2 separate regions of the Homo sapiens genome follow, and region 2 is linked to region 1. Evidence: promoter capture Hi-C in human tissues and cell types (Jung and others, 2019). All regions are on one chromosome and are shown on one strand. Each heading gives the region's core, a stretch centred on a gene start or on the middle of the fragment in contact. The rest is flanking DNA. Distances are from core to core; before and after follow the strand shown.

Region 1 (2,619 bases), core at 36-2,535:
ACAGCACTTGGAGGCAGATGTGCTTCTCACTTCAAGGAAACTGAGGCAGAGAGGGAGAGGTGGTCAGGACTCAAGCCCAGTAATTCATTTGCCAAATCCTGTTTCCTTTTCCCCCAACCCAGCGGGCTGGTTTGGGTATTTTCAGTTTGTGCCCATCAGAGTCCCTGCAGAGTGCTCTCCACTGTGTCTCAGATCTCTGTGTCCCCAGAGAACCATCAAAGGTTTTGTTTCACTCCCTGCTCTGGGCTGTCTTCCACCCAGCCCTGTGAACCTCAGTGCAGGTTGGCCGCCCCCTTAGAGGGAGGCTAATCAGGGAAGTTCTGAGTCAGGTCGTCCTGGAAAAACTACATTGACCTCTGGAGCTCAAGAGAGGCCAGGGGACAAACACATGGCTCAGCACACAGGAAGGCAGGTGTGGGTATTGAGTGACCTGAGGGAGAAATCCCTATTTATCATCCATCATGTGGTCCTGCTGTGACAAACCCGTGTGGCAGCCACCCACAGCAGATCCACAACGTGAGAGGCCCGCTGAAACAAGGGTGCTGGCATTGGTTACTCAGCCTGGCCCTCCCTGCCTTGCGGGGTGACCTGCCTGGTCCTGGCCTCTCTGTGAGTTGGGCCCTGCTGGGTGGTCCCTAGTGTGCCCAGCCCTGAGGCTGGTGAGAGGCCAGGCTGTGAGGTGTGAGGAACTTACCTGCGTCTCCATGGAAGGTGCCCTCCGCATCGTTGGGCCAGATCTGCCTGGTCTTGCAGATGCCCACGATGGTGGCCTCTGACACGACGACTGGGCAGTGCCGGTGACGCTTATGGCACTGCGGCGTGGTAGGGGCAGAGGGGGGAGGTTGCTTCTGTCGGAGGACTGCTGCGAGTTCTGCCAGAGAGAGCAGCTCTTGTCCCGGAACATGAGGTAGGTGGTGGGGCTTGGGGACACGCGGCTGGACTGGCCGGAGAAGTCCTCCTGGCCGGAGGGGAGCCAAGTGTTCCTGTTCCAGGACTGCAGAACTGGCCCAGACCTCTGTATTGGAAAGGTCTTTATGGACCAGGGAGTCCGGTGTCTTTTTTACGGGGGACCCCTGGGCTGCGAGTTGCACAGTCCAATTCGCTGTTGTTAGGGCCTCAGTTTCCCAAAAGGCACAGGGACGGGGGGAGGGTGGCGGCTCGATGGGGGAGCCGCCTCCAGGGGGCCCCCCCGCCCTGTGCCCACGGCGCGGCCCCTTTAAGAGGCCCGCCTGGCTCCGTCATCCGCGCCGCGGCCACCTCCCCCCGGCCCTCCCCTTCCTGCGGCGCAGAGTGCGGGCCGGGCGGGAGTGCGGCGAGAGCCGGCTGGCTGAGCTTAGCGTCCGAGGAGGCGGCGGCGGCGGCGGCGGCACGGCGGCGGCGGGGCTGTGGGGCGGTGCGGAAGCGAGAGGCGAGGAGCGCGCGGGCCGTGGCCAGAGTCTGGCGGCGGCCTGGCGGAGCGGAGAGCAGCGCCCGCGCCTCGCCGTGCGGAGGAGCCCCGCACACAATAGCGGCGCGCGCAGCCCGCGCCCTTCCCCCCGGCGCGCCCCGCCCCGCGCGCCGAGCGCCCCGCTCCGCCTCACCTGCCACCAGGGAGTGGGCGGGCATTGTTCGCCGCCGCCGCCGCCGCGCGGGCCATGGGGGCCGCCCGGCGCCCGGGGCCGGGCTGGCGAGGCGCCGCGCCGCCGCTGAGACGGGCCCCGCGCGCAGCCCGGCGGCGCAGGTAAGGCCGGCCGCGCCATGGTGGACCCGGTGGGCTTCGCGGAGGCGTGGAAGGCGCAGTTCCCGGACTCAGAGCCCCCGCGCATGGAGCTGCGCTCAGTGGGCGACATCGAGCAGGAGCTGGAGCGCTGCAAGGCCTCCATTCGGCGCCTGGAGCAGGAGGTGAACCAGGAGCGCTTCCGCATGATCTACCTGCAGACGTTGCTGGCCAAGGAAAAGAAGAGCTATGACCGGCAGCGATGGGGCTTCCGGCGCGCGGCGCAGGCCCCCGACGGCGCCTCCGAGCCCCGAGCGTCCGCGTCGCGCCCGCAGCCAGCGCCCGCCGACGGAGCCGACCCGCCGCCCGCCGAGGAGCCCGAGGCCCGGCCCGACGGCGAGGGTTCTCCGGGTAAGGCCAGGCCCGGGACCGCCCGCAGGCCCGGGGCAGCCGCGTCGGGGGAACGGGACGACCGGGGACCCCCCGCCAGCGTGGCGGCGCTCAGGTCCAACTTCGAGCGGATCCGCAAGGGCCATGGCCAGCCCGGGGCGGACGCCGAGAAGCCCTTCTACGTGAACGTCGAGTTTCACCACGAGCGCGGCCTGGTGAAGGTCAACGACAAAGAGGTGTCGGACCGCATCAGCTCCCTGGGCAGCCAGGCCATGCAGATGGAGCGCAAAAAGTCCCAGCACGGCGCGGGCTCGAGCGTGGGGGATGCATCCAGGCCCCCTTACCGGGGACGCTCCTCGGAGAGCAGCTGCGGCGTCGACGGCGACTACGAGGACGCCGAGTTGAACCCCCGCTTCCTGAAGGACAACCTGATCGACGCCAATGGCGGTAGCAGGCCCCCTTGGCCGCCCCTGGAGTACCAGCCCTACCAGAGCATCTACGTCGGGGGCATGATGGAAGGGGAGGGCAAGGGC
Region 2 (2,619 bases), core at 68-2,567, 360 kb after region 1:
AGGAACAAACCCACAGCCACCCGAGGAAGAGAGAATGCTGGCAGGATAGTCATGGAGCGGGGGCTCAGGAAGGCCTCTTTGAGGAGACAGTCTTAACACCTGAGAGCTGAGAAGAATTCAGCCTCACAAAACCCAGAGACGTGGCCCTCAAGAGGGAGATGGGGCTGGGAGACATGGTGGAGTGGCCAGGCCGGGAGTGGCTGCAGGGTTTGAGCCTGGGCCCAGCAGGTCTGGCAGGTCACCCCAGGGGTCTCCTGCTTGCTCCTGAGCCAGTGTCTGTGAGAGCTGGGTGGCAAGGCCAGCGGGAGGCTGAGGGACCCAGGGCCCGGGCATGTGGGAAGCGAGGGCGGCCTCTCCTTGGTTCCTCGGCAGCCTGGACCCTCACCCCCTGCAAGGTCCTGGTGGCCACCGCTTGCAGGGCCGTCCCTCTGGGAGTGGGCAGGGGGGCTGGGGGACACTGGGAAGACCTTCACCCCTCCGAAGGCAAGGCCTGGTCACGTTCATCCTCCATCCCTTTCCCGCCTGGACTCCTCCTGTGTGCTGGGAGCACTTGGCCGTGTGAGAACAGGGCAGCATGGTGGACGGGCCAGCATGGCACGGCGAGGTCTGAGCCCCTGGCTACTCTCCCCAGCCCTGAGAACTCAGGCTGCTCCGTAAGCTCTGTGGGCCTCAGGCTCCTGGTCGCTAGAATGGAGCCACAGGCAGGCTACCCAGAAGTGAGATGCCTGCCAAAAAGCCGTGTGCCCAGCCCAGAGCCAAGACTTGGTCCATCGAGCCCCAGCTCAAAAGCCCTATGAGAGGCCGGCCCTGAGCACCGTCCCTGTCCCTGTGTGCCACTTCAGTCACAATTCAGCAGCTCGCAGCCGCCCACTGAGGCTGAGCCTCTGTTCAAATTTGCCTCGATGTTTGCTGGTCACTGATTCAGGTCTTCGGGCCTCAGCTTCCTTACCCACAAACTGGGGGCGGCCTCTGGGGGCTGTTGTAAGGGGAGCTGGAGGCCACAGGCTCTGGCCTGGAGCACTTCGCTCTCCACCACTGTCTTCTCCTGACGTCTGTGTTTCCTCGTATCTCATGGTACCGCGTCTCCTCCGCAGGACCTGTGTGTCCTGTGTGACGCTGTGTGCCACCCACCACATCTTCAGCCCCTGAGAAAGATTCTGGTGGTGGAGGCTGTTGAGTAAATGCTCACTTGAGCTTCTCCCACTACCTTGGAGCCCCTCTTCTATTTGTCTCCAAATTCTCTTTGCTGACAGAGTGCACAGTTCAAAACCCCACACTGGGATGAACTAGAGGACGCCCAGGTCCAGCTCAGGAGCAGCTTCATGTCCCCTCCACTGCTGTACCTCTAGGGCCTCCCTCTGCCACTGCCATCTACTAGGACATTCTTCCTGGGCCCCTGTGGGACAAGGACTGCCTTTGGCTAGTGTGGGGAAAAGAAAGAGAGATCAGACTGTTACTGTGTCTATGTAGAAAGAAATAGACATAAGAGACTCCATTTTGTTCTGTACTAAGAAAAATTCTTCTGCTTTGAGATGCTGTTAATCTGTAACCCTAGCCCCAACCCTGTGCTCACAGAAACAGGTGCTGTGTTGACTCAAGGTTTAATGGATTCAGGGCTGTGCAGGATGTGCTTTGTTAAACAAATGCTTGAAGGCAGCAAGCTTGTTAAGAGTCATCACCACTCCCTAATCTCAAGTAAGCAGGGACACAAACACTGCGGAAGGCCGCAGGGACCTCTGCCTAGGAAAGCCAGGTGTTGTCCAAGGTTTCTCCCCATGTGACAGTCTGAAATATGGCCTCTTGGGAAGGGAAAGACCTGACTGTCCCCTGGCCCGACACCCGTAAAGGGTCTGTGCTGAGGATTAGTAAAAGAGGAAGGAAGGCCTCTTTGCAGTTGAGATAAGAGGAAGGCATCTGTCTCCTGCTCATCCCTGGGCAATGGAATGTCTTGGTGTAAAGCCTGATTGTATATGCCATCTACTGAGATAGGAGAAAACTGCCTTAGGGCTGGAGGTGGGACATGCTGGCGGCAATACTGCTCTTTAAGGCATTGAGATGTTTATGTATATGCACATCAAAAGCACAGCACTTTTTTCTTTACCTTGTTTATGATGCAGAGACATTTGTTCACATGTTTTCCTGCTGGCCCTCTCCCCACTATTACCCTATTGTCCTGCCACATCCCCCTCTCCGAGATGGTAGAGATAATGATCAATAAATACTGAGGGAACTCAGAGACCGGTGCGGCGCGGGTCCTCCATATGCTGAGCGCCGGTCCCCTGGGCCCACTTTTCTTTCTCTATACTTTGTCTCTGTTGTCTTTCTTTTCTCAAGTCTCTCGTTCCACCTGAGGAGAAATGCCCACAGCTGTGGAGGCGCAGGCCACTCCATCTGGTGCCCAACGTGGATGCTTTTCTCTAGGGTGAAGGGACTCTCGAGTGTGGTCATTGAGGACAAGTCAACGAGAGATTCCCGAGTACGTCTACAGTGAGCCTTGTGGTAAGCTTGGGCGCTCGGAAGAAGCCAGGGTTAATGGGGCAAACTAAAAGTAAAGTCTCTCATTCCACCTGATGAGAAACACCCAGAGGTGTGGAGGGGCAGGCCACCCCTTCAGGGTAG

Evidence for each region. Contacts are between HindIII fragments. The study calls those that stand out against the background at their distance.
Region 2: a fragment that was not itself captured here is called in contact with the fragment with the promoter of BCR in region 1 in 1 of the 25 tissues and cell types used here (spleen).

What each region holds. Positions count from the first base shown.
Region 1 is chr22:23,179,224-23,181,842 of GRCh38, forward strand. It overlaps BCR (BCR activator of RhoGEF and GTPase), which reads left to right and starts at 1,286. Exons shown (of 23, transcript NM_004327.4): 1 at 1,286-2,619. The coding sequence starts at 1,738. It also overlaps a transcript of RSPH14 not described here and the pseudogene BCRP8. RefSeq lists an enhancer at 206-1,016 and silencers at 1,137-1,376, 1,447-1,716, 1,737-1,816. The HindIII fragment of the contact is 16,176 bases long and covers 1-2,619 here.
Region 2 is chr22:23,534,638-23,537,256 of GRCh38, forward strand. It overlaps LOC124900476 (endogenous retrovirus group K member 5 Gag polyprotein-like), which reads left to right and starts at 2,244. Exons shown (of 2, transcript XM_047441690.1): 1 at 2,244-2,499. RefSeq lists enhancers at 1-581, 582-1,198, 1,814-2,430. The HindIII fragment of the contact is 4,075 bases long and covers 1-2,619 here.